Regions from separate parts of the Homo sapiens genome. Here region 2 is linked to region 1. The links are contacts of gene promoters, found by promoter capture Hi-C in human tissues and cell types (Jung and others, 2019). All regions are on one chromosome and are shown on one strand. The core of a region is centred on a gene start or on the middle of the fragment in contact, and the rest is flanking DNA. Distances in the headings are between cores, read along the strand shown.

The links. The method cuts DNA at HindIII sites, captures the fragments that hold promoters and counts their contacts. A contact is called where the count stands out against the background at its distance.
Region 2: a contact is called between a fragment that was not itself captured here and the fragment with the promoter of PTPRD in region 1, in 2 of the 25 tissues and cell types used here (heart left ventricle and spleen).

What each region holds. Positions count from the first base shown.
Region 1 is chr9:10,611,294-10,618,192 of GRCh38, reverse strand. PTPRD (protein tyrosine phosphatase receptor type D) reads left to right here and starts at 5,191. Exons shown (of 46, transcript NM_002839.4): 1 at 5,191-5,505; 2 at 5,688-5,795. PTPRD-DT (PTPRD divergent transcript) reads right to left here and starts at 4,987. Exons shown (of 3, transcript NR_110696.1): 1 at 4,767-4,987; 2 at 1,524-1,576; 3 at 1-332. RefSeq lists a silencer at 5,037-5,246. The HindIII fragment of the contact is 2,966 bases long and covers 4,077-6,899 here.
Region 2 is chr9:10,691,099-10,698,423 of GRCh38, reverse strand. No RefSeq gene overlaps it. Among named protein-coding and RNA genes, the nearest start is that of PTPRD-DT, 82 kb to the right of the region's middle. The HindIII fragment of the contact is 8,629 bases long and covers 1-5,667 here.

The sequences.
Region 1 (6,899 bases), core at 3,942-6,441:
TGGCCTTGGATCATTTAATATACAGAGACATGACACCTCTGTGGAAAATATTAATACATTGTTATTTAGCTATACATGAAGGTCATGTATAAGTCAGGGTTCTCCAGAGAAACAGACCCAAGAGAATATGTATAGATATGTAAGTGGCGAATTAATATGAGAATTGCTTCATGCAACTATGGAGGCCAAGAAGTTCCACAATCTGCCATCTGCAAGGTGGAGAACCAGGGAAGTTGGTGGTATAATTCAGTCTGAGACCAAAGGGGTGAGAACTTGAGGAGCCCAATGGTGTGCCTCCTGGAGTCTGAAGGCTTAACCAGGAGCTCCAATGTCTGAGCACAAGAGAAAATGGGTGTCAGCTTCCCAGATCAAGGAAAGATGGGGAGAGGTAGAGAGTAACAGAGGGAGGGAGAGAGAAAGACAGAAATAGAGTGAGATAGAGAGAGCAAGACAGAATTCACCTTTCCTCTGCCTTTTTGTTCTATTCTGGCCCCCACTGGATTAGATGATTCCTGTCCACACTGGTGAGTATGATCTTCTTAACTCAGTCTACTGATTCAAATACTACTGTCTTCCAAATATACCTTTGCAGACTTACCCAGAAATAATGCTTCTCTATTTATCTGGGCATCTCTTAGTCCACTGAAGTTGACACATGAACTTTACCATCACAGCTGTACCATCAAACATTTTCTTGTGGTATGTTACAGTTATTTTCATTTTGAGTAATAATAATGTTTTGGCACTTCTCTACACATTAGACAATATATTTGTTAAACCTAGGACAATTGAATAAAAATTATATCTTTGAATACTATGAATTTAAAAAACAGAAATGGATGATTCAGAGTATCAGGAGGAAATGGAAGGCACAATCAGGAATCATTTTAAAGAGAATTTCGATAAGGGATACTTTCTAGAAGGGTAGCTGTGTTATGGGATCCCATGAGGGATACTGGCTATTTTAATTGCTAGCCATAGTGGAAAGCTGAAGGAGCAACAGATACAATGGGGATATTGGGGGAAAATATGAGGTAGAGCTATGGAAAGGTGGTGACAAGAAAAGACTGTGTAGCCACTGCCAGAAAGAACCACAGTGCCAAGTTATGCTGCAAATGGGGGAAACATGGCCCTGCTTTTTCTCTCCTCCTGCCCCTTTCTGGTGCCTCTCATTGACAAAACCCAAACAGAAACCAGGGGACAAGGGAAACCAGGTTAGTACAATACCTAAAGATTAATCCATAGAGCACAGAAAAGAGCACATGAGGGGTCTGAGGTTGGGATTAAATAGAGGGGCAGGGATAGAAAGCTACCAGCACAATAAGTGAGAAAATAAATGTGTACATTATGTCAAAACCTGAAGCCTTTAGATTGTGTGTAATTTAGCATTAGCTACATCATGATTTCAGTGGAATGACATCTATACCTTGTACCTACAACCATCTCAAATATGACTTCATTAAGACTCCTTAAATTGGATAATTATATAGACAACTCATTGAATAATTATATAGTCAACTCACTTTTTCCATTGTGTTGTAAGGTTTCCTGAGCAGCTTTCTTGGTATCCAACCATCTATAAGAAATTGGGTAAATTATACCCATTTAGTCAATTGAAATTGTACTTCCATTGACTAAATAAAAGTTAAAGAGCAGGAGATTATCTTTTCCCACATGAAATAAGTATGAGCAGTTTGATTCATTAAGTACATGGTTTTCTGCATGATTTTATGTTATCAATATAAAATTGTTTCTACTTGTAGTTTCTGCCAAGTGGCATAACTTTAGAACGAAAAGTGGAGAAAAGGGAGAATAAATTAAGTGAACACCATTACTGCAGACTGAGGCAAAGCAAACAAACAAACAATAGTCAAAGTGTGAGAGTCTACTGCTGACAAATCCAACCTACCTACAGATTGGGCTTCGAACACCTCCTAGATCCTTGTCTCCTTTCCAACAGGTTACTTGCTCTCCCTGGCTTCCTTATTACCCTTTTATCTCTTTATTCCATTCCACACTATGGAATTATCTCTTTATTCAATTCCACAATATGGAATTATCTCTTTATTCAATTCCACAATATGGAGTGCTGTATAATTAGGAAATTTCCTCATGATGCTCTCAAAACATTTAAATAACATACTAGAACAGGAAATTATTGCTGTGTAGTTGCTATTTATGTATTGCAAATTCTAATTTAAAAACTGAGTCAGGAAGGAAATTACTTATTTCCCTCAAAAATCCAAAATACAAATGTAAATTTTGAGATTTCTTCTCCTTACAGCAGGCTGTTAAAATTAATTATAAGCCTATATATAACAAAGCTAAATGTAGATTTGATAAATAAAGAAATGTGTTAAAATAAAGGGAACCTCAAAGCAACTGATATTCAGGACCATGCTTTGTTGGCCCAATTTCACTGTCCCTTTTTGGTTATTTTTATCTTACATTTGTTATGGTTGTTTTAAACACGTGGTCCACTGACAACAACCAATTCAGATAGGTTACTGATTTTTAAGAGTAAATATATGGCAATAACTTAAAGCGGACATTTGCATCTGCCTTTTTATTGAAGAAGGAGAAATAAATTATAATGTTACAGGAAGTGTAGCTAGGTAGTTAGATAATAAAATTTTCTTAACTCCTTAAGCTTGGTGCAATCACCTTCAAGTAAGATATCTCAATCCAATTCTCAGATGTAATTAATAATAAAATCTCTACAATAAGCTAATCCATTGAACATTTGTGATATTATTATGTGGGGAGGAGGTAGGAGGAAGGGGATTGAGTATAACACTGATTCTTCCATTGTTTAAAATATTCTTTGTTTTCCAGAGGACACCAAAGGATAGTTGTACAGGAGCAAGAGTAAATCAGCCCCAGGGAGCACTGTCTCTGTGAGATCCCAGCCTGGAGCTGAAGTAGAGAAGAGTTTCAAGTTGCTGAACACCCCCATGCAGCAGTAAAAAGATATAAGATATCGACACGCTCAGCTGCATCTTGTTAAAAGCTTCCTGCGGGTTGGCAGAATGAAATCTTTACTTAAAACACACAAACTATTGTCAAGGGAAAGATGGAAAAGAGAATACAGTAAAAGGGCCAAATGCTTTGCTTAACCCACCAGAAGCAGTAGAAAGGGAGAGGTGGTCACGTTGTCTTTGCAACAACAACAACAGAAAAGGTGACTAACACAACCACATCAGCCTCCATCTGCTCTTCCCATGGTTTCAAGATGCATTATTTCTTTTATTATTAATTACTTGTGTTTCTGAGGGAGGACAAATATATTATTGTGACTAGCAAGAGAGGAAATCATTTCTGCTTCTACTTGGCATTAAGTACAGTAGTGTATGTAATGACTGAGGGATGGCAGGAAACAGAGCGGCATCATTGAGACCAGCCTCCCTCCTACCAATCCACTCCAACTCGCCCTTGGTAGTCAGAGGCTGCCTAACAGAAAGTTCATGTAAAACCATTATTGAACACTGACAGGAAGGAACTGAGACAGGAGTGAGTGGTGTGTATTTGTGCAGAAAGGGAGAAGGAGGGAGGGAGAGAGAGAGAATATGAGTCAGTCATCATCATCTTGGGGAGACAGCACCGTAAGAGGGGCAAGTGCTTTGTATAATTACAAAAATATGTACACATGCACACACACTTGCACATATGGTGTAATTTTTTTTCGTTCATATCTTGTCATTTCCAAGAACCTTTTTAAGTGATGATGACTGTTTGTGCATGGGAACCTTCTTGGATGGGTAGGCTCCGTGGCTTTAGGGAGGCTGAGCAGGGAACCCGGCAGCGCGTGGGTTCAGGAGAAGGGTCCCTTTTAAAGAGCAAAGGGACACAGCAAGCAGTGGAGAAGGTATGAAAAGAAAAAGGTGAAGGGACCCTGGGGAAAATTCCACCTATAGTGACTAAGCTTTATTTCTCTTCGGGAGAAAGTGACATTTCTGCGATTAGATCATTGACATATAAGGAAAGTAGATGGATAACTGGTTTTTCGTTGTTCTTTTTTTATTTGTTTTCTTCTACAGTGCTTACAGAACCTTTGACCAGATGGTACCTGGAATGCTCTGTGTTGCATATTACAAACAGGATAATTATTTTGGCTTTTTAGAAAACGCACCGACATGGTGACATTGCTCTCTGTTTATCAAGAGACAGAGCATTTGTTGCCTATAGCTGTATGCTCTGATGAGACATGAAAGATAGTAAAATGACAAAAAGCTTCCTGCTGTTTTTCTCTCATCCTGCCCCTTCTTCTCCCCCCAGCTCCAAACCTTATTTCTAGTTTCGCTGGGGGTCTAAGTTCCTCCTCCCCTGTCTCCCGAGTCTGTGGTACACCACATCTGATGCACTCCGATACCCCACTCTACCTTGGGGTAAGGAGGAGGTGGGGAAGAATCCGCTCCCTGCATCCATGTCCTCTCCTCTGCAGCGAGGCATATTCTCAGCAACTCTTGTACAGGTTTTCCCTTCTCAGCTACCACCTTGGCAGAGCTCTATCCCTCCCTCAAGCCCAGCCAGACTGCCAAGCGCCCCGACTGAAAACTCCATCCAGCTCAGCCGAAGTACACCCCCTCCGCCAAGCAACCCCTGTGCCCCTGCCCTTCACCTCCCTAAGTCTGCTCTTCATAAGCATCGATTCCATTGCAAATCAAATGTACGTCCCCCAGCTATTAACACCCACTACCCCTTAGGTGTTACCGACAGCCTCCCTCGGAAAATAATAATAATAATAATAACCGAAAGCACGCGAACACCTGAAGAAGCACAGATCGGGATCCGCATCTGGACCAGTCCTCTGTGGCTATAGTGATGGGGAATAGCCTGTGCCTGACATATCCTCCTGTTCCCGCGCGAACCGCTTTACCCTGGATCCCTGGAATCGTGCCTAGGCACCCGGGCGGCGGGGTCCGCCCAGGCCGCGTCAGGCAGCTCTGGGCCGGTGGGTGCCGGGTCTCCCCTCCTCCCGCCCCATCTGGCGCGCCCGCAGCGCCGCCGCCGCCGCCGCTTCTCTCCCCAGCGGGCGCTCGGAGCATCCCGCGCCGCGTTCTCCCCGCCCCGGCCCCCGCCCGCCGGAGCGGGGCCCACGCCGCTGGCAGCCATCAAGTGGCTCGTTAAGGAAATGCAGGTGAGTGCGTGAGGCCGAGCGGCAGCTGCTGGAGACGTGGGGTGTGTGCCTGTGAGTGCGAGCGAGACGAGGAGGGAGCGCCAGCGAGCGAGCGAGCGAGTGCGGGAGCGGCCGCCTCGGCTCCCCGCCCAGCCGCGCCCGCAGCCGGCGGCCGGAGCGCGTGGGGGCAGCGCCTCGCCCCGACAGAGCCTCGCCTCCTCCTTGCCGTCTCGGCTGCTTCTCCGAGGAGCCGGGAGCCGCTCATCGGCCTCCCCAACCCTGCGCTCCCCTCCCAGCCCGAGTCCTCCCGCTGCTCTTTCTCCTCCTCCTCCCGAGCCTCCTCCCCTCCGGCGCGGCGCCGCCAGCCAGCCTCGGCGGGGAGAGTGCAGGTACTTTGCCTTCAGAATAATTAGCAGGACCCAAGCCGGCTTTCCGAGCGCGCTTTCTTTTTCTTCCTTTGCCCCCTCCCTCCGGAAAAGAAGATCCCACTTTTGAAACAATCAGAAATCGAAGCACCCCACCAAAGCCAAACCCTGACGGGCTGCTGTGCATGTGCCATCCCTTTTTGCAGTTTATTCTGGGCCTGTGTGGAATAGAAAGACAATTCTTTATTTGACTGGTAGGAAAGAAAAGAGAAGACTCCTCAGGGTTTCCAAGGAGGACTGGAGCGGCTGCTTTAGTAAGTAAACTGTGCTTCTGTCTTTCTTTTCTCTAAAGTGAAGCATATGCTGATGCTTTTCAATGCCCAATGTCCAATGCTGTGGACAGTTTATTCATTTTACCTGGGAATAACTTGACTTATATAACTTCAGTAGCTCCTATTTGAGAAGTGGTTCGCTAAGCATTTTTTTCTTTTTTTTTTTTTTTTGGAAGAGCCCTTAGAAGACTTCGATATGGGATCAGTATGGGCAGCCTTACTGGAAAACTGATTTTTAAACGTTTATTGTTCAAGGGCTATTGGAAGCCTGCTTTGTTAAACATTGGTTGGTTCTAAGATTTAAGGGTGGTTATCTAGAAAAAGCTTGAAAAATCTAACCCTACTGGCTCACTTCTCCTGCCACCTTCAACCTCAGCCCTAATCCATGCTAACTCCCACCCTACTCTGACTTCAGTTGGTTGGTTGTTTTATCTTTAGTTCTGAAAAGCTCTAGAAAAAAAAAGGGGGGGGGGGCGGAAAAGGGAAAGTTAATAAGGATGGTTTGAAAGACCAGATGAAAATTCTGTTGCGATTTCTTCATGCCTGTAAGGAGATAATAATTGGAGGAAAATCCTGGAACTAGAATAGTTGGAGAATTAGAATGAACTTAATTTGGAGAGAGAATGTGAAAAATACTTTGGAGAGGGCAGGGCTGAGACTGTGACTTTGACACAGCGGGTTATAAACTCTGACAGGGCTCAGCAGCCAGTGACAGGTTTAAGGTGTCTCCTAAGGCTGAATATCTCTGCATCAAAAACTTTTGCAGGCAGTATTCCTCTTGGGGCTAACATCACCATGTCAGTAGCTGTAGCATTTCTTTTTACAGAAGTAGGACACTCTTCTTTCTACAAAAGGGTTAATAAGTTCATTATACATATATATAAAAAACATGTAGTCTAACATTTGCCAATATTTTGTAATATCTAAATAAAACCTTTGTGTTATGTCAGGAAAAATATAGTTGACTCAGTTTGTTTTGCACAAGAGGGAGAGAATCAATAACATTTCAGCATTTTTTTCTTTATCACTGCCAAATGGATTCTGAATCTAATTCTTCTTGCATTGTTACATATACAGTAGATACAG
Region 2 (7,325 bases), core at 104-2,603, 84 kb before region 1:
CTAACTGTCCAACCAGTATAGTACTTTTGCCCGAATTTTCTAGTAACTTTAATTGAGTAGTAAATTCATTCCTACTGCCAAGACTGTTATCAGTTTTTGACTAAAGTGAAAGAAGGAACGGTCACTTCAGGGAAGAGGTCTTAAATCTAGCTCACAGGGAAAGAGGGAATAAAATTTGCATTTTAAAAGATTTACTATAAAATAAACAGGGAAGCCCACACAGAAAGGAGGGTCATGGAAGATATGACAGCACAATATTGATAATGATACTTAATGGGATAAGTTATAAAAACATTTTTCTAATGCATAGTTAATGGAGAAAGTGCTAAAAATAAATTCAGGTAATTAGGAGGCATCTTGGTTTTGCTAGTAAACTGTTTGCTGTTAAATATATGGGGCTAGCCTAAAAAAAAAAAACCATAAATGAGCATTTCCCCACATTACACATCGAAGATGCGGAAAGTAATTGCATAGTTATATTGTATAAACTCCAGTGAATGTTATTTCTTAAATGCCATAGAGGACCTGAGAGATATTAACAAAATCCATTAGAGTTGAATATTTTCATAAGAGGAGAAAAGTAGCAATCTTTAAAATGGCCATTTTTAAATTTTTAATTTATGTTTCTTTATCTTGTTAATTTTTGTAATTGGGGAAACAAATTTCTTTTGAGTGATGACTTTTTAAAAGTTAAAAGTCCTTTTTTAATGGTAAATTACAGAGTGAAATAAATATCAAGAAATAAAAATAAAACAGTTTAAAGACTAAAGATGCATTCCAACTTAAACATTTAGTAGGAACTAAATAGAAGAATTACTGTTTAAATTTAAAATGAATCTTTCCCATTGTATAGTGAAAGGCTAAATTCAATTTCCAGCTATTAAATTCATTGTAGTAGTCACTTTTTGTTGTGTAGCAAACAACCTTAAAATCTCTCTCTCCTACAACCTTATTTTTATTTATTTTCCTTTTTATAGCTCTCAGGTCTGTGAATTCCTGAGGTTTTAGCAATCTTAGCTGGATTACAATGGTTCGGCTGAGCTGGGCTCCAGTCTTCAGGTGGATTCTTGTTTTCTCACATCTCCTTCTGAAACTAGCAGCTCCCTGGGTGCACTATTTTTATGACCTGAAAGAAGCCCTGCCTGAGAGGCAAGCGGAAACCGGAACACTTCTTAACTCTTTAACTGAGAATTAGCATGGTGTAACTTACACACTCATCCTATTGGCTAAAGCAAGTCACCTGGCAAGCCCAATATCAATGGGATAGGCAAATACATTGTGACCCCACAGAGACACCACACTAAAAAAAAAAAAAAAAAAAAAATGCAAGTTAAAGGTGGTTCATTTATAACCTTGCTGCTGGGAGGTGAAGAATTGGGAACAATAATTCAATTCACTGCATATGGGTGATCTTTGTTTCCTCATCTGTAAAATATTATCTGTCTGAACTTCTAATCTAACTCATTACATAAACAAATACCCACTGAATAGAAATTGTTTGTTCTTACTTTGTACTATGAACTGTGCTAAGTGCTTGATGCACAAAATTGTATGAAACATTGCTACATCTGTTAGCTGAGTGAAACATATTTTATTAGATAGGACAGGCTATGCTGTGTTCAAGTAACAAATAGACACCCAAATCTTAGTAAATTTAAGCAATAAAACTTACTTATCTTCTTGGATACAGAATCCTTTTCAGGTAGGGAGTTTTTCTTGGTGACCATCCTCCAGGCAGTAATAGAGTGAACCAGGTTACTGGCAATTTACTCCACCATCTTTTATGTAGCCTTTCTGCTTGTCCCAAAAGTGAAAGGCAGTGTGAATGACTGTGCAAGGAAGTTCATGGTCAGGCCTAGAAATAGTACATATCACTTGTTCCCACACTAAAGATAGTGGTCACATTGCCACTATCCAGTTATATGGTCCCACACTAGCTAGAGCAGTTGGTAATGTAGTGTCTCTGCTATAATTCCCTTTTATGTTCACCAAATATCTGTTTCTCTTTTTTTCCTACCCATAGAACACAATTTATTTTTTCCTAAGGAGCACAACACAGAGACTCACCCAGTTATTAAATCCAGTTTAAACTCCATGATCTTTAAGTCATACACAGCCCTGACCATAGATCCTGAAAACCTGTATATTCTCCTAGAAGTCTAAATGATCATGCCCCTTGAACAGAAAGTTTAGTCACCTGACTACAGACAGATAAATTCACACACTATGCAGAGAGCCTGGATATCCAGAATAAGTACTTCAATTTGGAAAGGGAATTAAGAGGAGACCTTATAGTCATTGGTCTCTAGTAATTCTGAAACACCAGTGAGCTGATATTGTGAAACCCCTATACCCTAGAAGTGTCGGGGAGTTATTTGATTTTTTTTTAATCAATCTCTAAATCCACTGTATGAGACAAGCTGTCTTGTCCATAGTTTTTCTTGGTCCTGGCTCCACATCCTGGAAAGTTCCTCCTAGTTCATTATTCATTTTATCATTTAAAGTGGTTTTGGAAGAGCCTGAACTCCTGGAGAGCTAGAGGCTTTTGAAATGTGCCTATTGCTCATGAAGGATGAACTCTTAAGAGTTCTAAGTATTAACATATCTTAACTTTTTTACGGTCCCTATTTTCCTCAAAACTTTGTAGGTGTCAAATATATTTGGTTCTTGTCTGTTCCAAACTTAAGTTCTTTTAATAGACATAGTTTTCAAATCTGCTTATATTGTTCTACTTTCTCACTGTCACATCTGTCTCACTCAATTTAATAGTGGCTATCTACCTTATGCTGACATTATCCCTGGGTCACTTTAAACAACTGAAAATTTTTACTGGGATAATGGAAAAATGTATATATCTTAAATTAATTTTTTATTGTTTGGCATATAGCAGCAGTTAGCTTTTCCAACACTGCAATTTGCTCATGATCTTTTAAATTCTACCGTAAACTCATTATTGCTTATAATTTCTTATCTATTTATACCAATAACAAACAAGAAAGTGTGCTAAGATAATGAATTCCAACTTTTTTCCTTAAGAGCCACAAGCTTAATAGGTCCACAGTTTGCTTTCAAATATACCACAGATAATCAAGGTTTTTTGCCACTGCATGACTCGATTCACCTACTTTCTAGCTTCTGATTTCAGTTTCCTCTTATCCAGTCCCTAACTTCTTTTTTTAAAACAAACAAACAAAAACCTTTTAAGTTCAGGAGTACATGCACAGGTTTGTTACATAGGTAAACCTGTGTCATGAGGGTTTAGAAACATACCTCAAAATAATAACAGCCACATATGACAAACCTACAGCCAACATCATGCTAAATAGGGAAAAGTTGGAAGCATTCCCCTTGAAAACAAGTACAAGACAAGGATGCCCTCTGTCACCACTTCTATTCAACATAGTATTGGAAGTCCTGGCCAGAACAATCGGGCAAGAAAAAGAAGTAAAGAGCATCCAAATAGGAAGAGAGGAAGTCAAACTATCCCTGTTTGCAGATGACATAATCCTATATCTAGAAAACCCCATCGTCTCAGCCCCAAAGCTTCTTAAGCCAATAAACCACTTCAGCAACATCTCAGGATACAAATCAATGTGCAAAAATCACTCGCATTCCCATTTACCAAAAAGAGTCAGGCTGAGAGTCCAGTCAGGAACAAACTCTCATTCATAATTGCCACAAAAAAAGAATAAAATACCTAGGAATACAGATAACAAGGGAGGTGAATGATCTCTACAACGACAACTATAAACTACTACTAAAAAAAATCAGAGATGATACAAACAAATGGAAAAACATTCCATGCTCTTGGACAGAAAGACTCAATGTCGTTAAAATGTCTATACTCCTTAAAGCGATTTATAGATTCAATGCTATTCTACACAAACTACTATTGACATTCTTCACAGAACAAGAAAAAACCTATTTTAAAGTTGATATGGAACCAAAGAAAGAGCCCAAATAGCCAAGGCAATCCTAAGCAAAAAGAGCAAAGCTGGAAGCATCATGCTTACTGAAGTTCAAACTATACTAAAGGGCTACAGTAACCAAAACAGCATGATATATCAGATAGGTAGGCTGAATGCTGGTGTAGTACTAACTAAACTATAAAACTCAGTGACTTCATTCGACAAAAATTAGTTTGTTATCCATTCAAATTCCAATGTGTACCATAGGTTCTCTTGGATTCTTCCAAAAAATGACTCAAAAATCTAGGCTATTTCTATTTATAACATCACTATTTTCAGCATAACTCCCATGCTCTTTCAACTAAAAGAGATTATGGAGGATGACAGACCAAGCCTTATGTCTAGGCATAGAACACCCTTCTACTCCATTGCATTAGCTAAAACCCAGTTACATGGCCTAAATTACAAAAATAACTGCAAGTAAGGCTGAGATTTATAGTTTTTGTATGGGTACAGAAGATTTAATGAGTTGGATGGGGGTCTTACTAGTTTTGCCACACATAAACACCTAAAAAAAGCTTAATTCTGCATGACTTGAGGCTATCATGAGGATCAAAGAATGATCCTCTACAATCAATATATACAGTAAAACAATGCACACATTTAAACTACTATTAGGATATTCATGGTTGTTAAAAATAATTGGTAATGCATATTCATTTGAGAATTATTAGCATATACCCAGTAAGCCTAGTTTTTATATGAAATTAAATGAAACTTTACAAAGCCTATATAGTTCTATGCTATTTGAATTTTATTGCGTTCCAGTGAGGCAAGAAATATGTGTATCTAATATAATGTATATGACCCATGGGTCAATCTAATAGGAACTCATGGTCTCCAGCTCAGACCGGCAAAAATAATAGATCTAATTCTCCTTTCAACTAAATTTAAGTAAATATAATCTGTTATTGCTATTATTTGTAAGGTAGTCAAAAGAATTAAAGCCAAGAAGAAAAAAAATTTCCTGGCCATTAGTATGATATATCCATATTATTTTCATTGGATATTCATTGTACACTATTTAACATAAACATAAATACGCAAGGTCAAATGATAATTTAGCCAATCACTATATAACACTATACATTTAAACAAAACATTGTAATTACAGTGACATGGAAAGCACAAATTAACTAGTTTCAGAGCACTCATGGGAATGATCAAGAATCAGCAATGCTTTGGCACTATATTCAAGAGCATGGAATCCTGTCTCTTTTTTTTTTTTTTTTTTGAGACGGAGTCTCACACTGTCGCCCAGGCTGGAGTGCGGTGGCGCCATCTCGGCTCACTGCAAGCTCCGCCTCCCGGGTTCACGCCATTCTCCTGCCTCAGCCTCCCAAGCAGCTGGGACTACAGGCACCTGCCACCATGCCCGGCTAATTTTTTTTTTATATATATTTAGTAGAGACGGGGTTTCACCGTGTTAGCCAGGTTGGTCTCCATCTCCTGACCTCATGATCCACCCGCCTCGGCCTCCCAAAGTGCTGGGATTATAGGCGTGAGCCACCGCGCCCAGCCAGAATCCTGTCTTAATTCATTTTTCTATCAGTTCAAATCACTGGATGAGTTCTCTTGAATGTTGAACATTTTTCCAGGCACAAAGTTATAATATTTTCCTACTGGATTACAGAGAAACAAAAGTGAGAAAAGAGGGACAAGTTAAAATTTGTTGGCTTATATATGTTGTTGTTTTTAACTTATATTTACTCTAGACAGAATTAATCCATAGCGGAGTATAAAATAAAATTACAGGTTCAGGAACATGACATCTTTCATTTTTTATATCACCAGTTATTAGCCCTACAACTTTGAACAAATCACATAATCGTTCATAATTGCTGGTTAGTAACTGGTTTTGGATAATAGAAAAAATAATAATTTTTCTATATCACAGGGTGGTTCCAAAGATCATATAAGACAATGTACGTAAAAGCACTATGAAACTAAATTTCTGTACAAATTTAAAGTATTATTGTTGCTTCTAAAATTACCTTAATGGATTATGTTTCAGATGAGGCCTTGGTTTTTTTTTTTCAATTATTATTATTATTGTTCATAGTTGTACCTTAGGCCATAAGACAGACATTATTCTTAACCTTTTCTCTTTTCATGATTTCTATTTCTCCTGGTGCATTAAATTTAATGCAATAAAACTGTCTCTTTCCAACAAGTAAAGTGCATTTATAATCCCGACTATAGGAATACAGGCAATATAATAAAAATGTATAAAAAATGTATATCTAAAGATGAAGATGAAAGATATGAGTGATTTGTAACACAACCTGTCATCAAAAGCACTGAATGCCAGAGAATATATGATATGTGCAAGAATCAATATTAAAACCATACTTAGTAGAGTTTAAGAAGGCAATAGTGACATTTAGCATTGCATTTTACATTTTGCTAATGGACTAGAAAGTCAACTGTCATTTTGTGCTCTTTAGCAACAAAATCCACTTTATTCTGTAAAGTTGTAAGTAAAAAAATTATGTTATTAACATTCTTCTCAAGTTAGATTGAAATTAGTGAAATGTGATTGATGTTTTCCCTTCTGTCTTTCCTATACTGTTATTGGTTTTGATAAGAGAAATCTAAGGTCAACTTAATTTTTTTAATTGTAAATCAATAATAATGATTATCATGGGTTCTTTTTGAGTTTTGTCATAATTGACCAGGAGTTATTCAATAATCATTGCAAGCAAGTAAGATATTATTCATGTTAGCATGATTAATTTTAAAATTACCCAGAAGCTGAAATTTTACCTATAAACATAAACACAGCATGAGTGGTATATGGAAGTAATAAAAATATGTATAACATCTGATAAAAGTGAATATTTCCTATAGACCCCAAATTGACCTAACTTCTTTTTAAAGCTTTAAAAATTATCTTATTTTTAATGTGTTTAGGTTTAGTGAAAAATAAGTCTTGAAAAATATACTTGGAAATTATATTCATAGCTATATCTAATGGAAGGGTTGTGGTAATTTCTATTTACTATTTTTTTTTTTTTGAGTCGGAGTTTCACTCTTGTACCCAAGCTGGTGTGAAATGGCATGATCTTGGCTCACTGCAACCTCCACCTCCCGGGTTTAAACGATTCTCTTGCCTTAGCCTCCCGAGTAGCTGGAGTTACAGGCACACGCCACCATGCCTGGCTAATGTGTGTATTTTTAGTAGAGATGGGGTTTTGCCATGTTGACCAGACTGGTCTCGAACTCCTGACCTCAGGTGACCTGCCCGCCTCGGCATCCCAAAGTGCTGGGATTACAGGCATGAACCACCATGCCCGGTCGGTAATTACTATTTTTTGCTCATCATTTAAAACATATTTTCTTGTTACTAGTGCTATG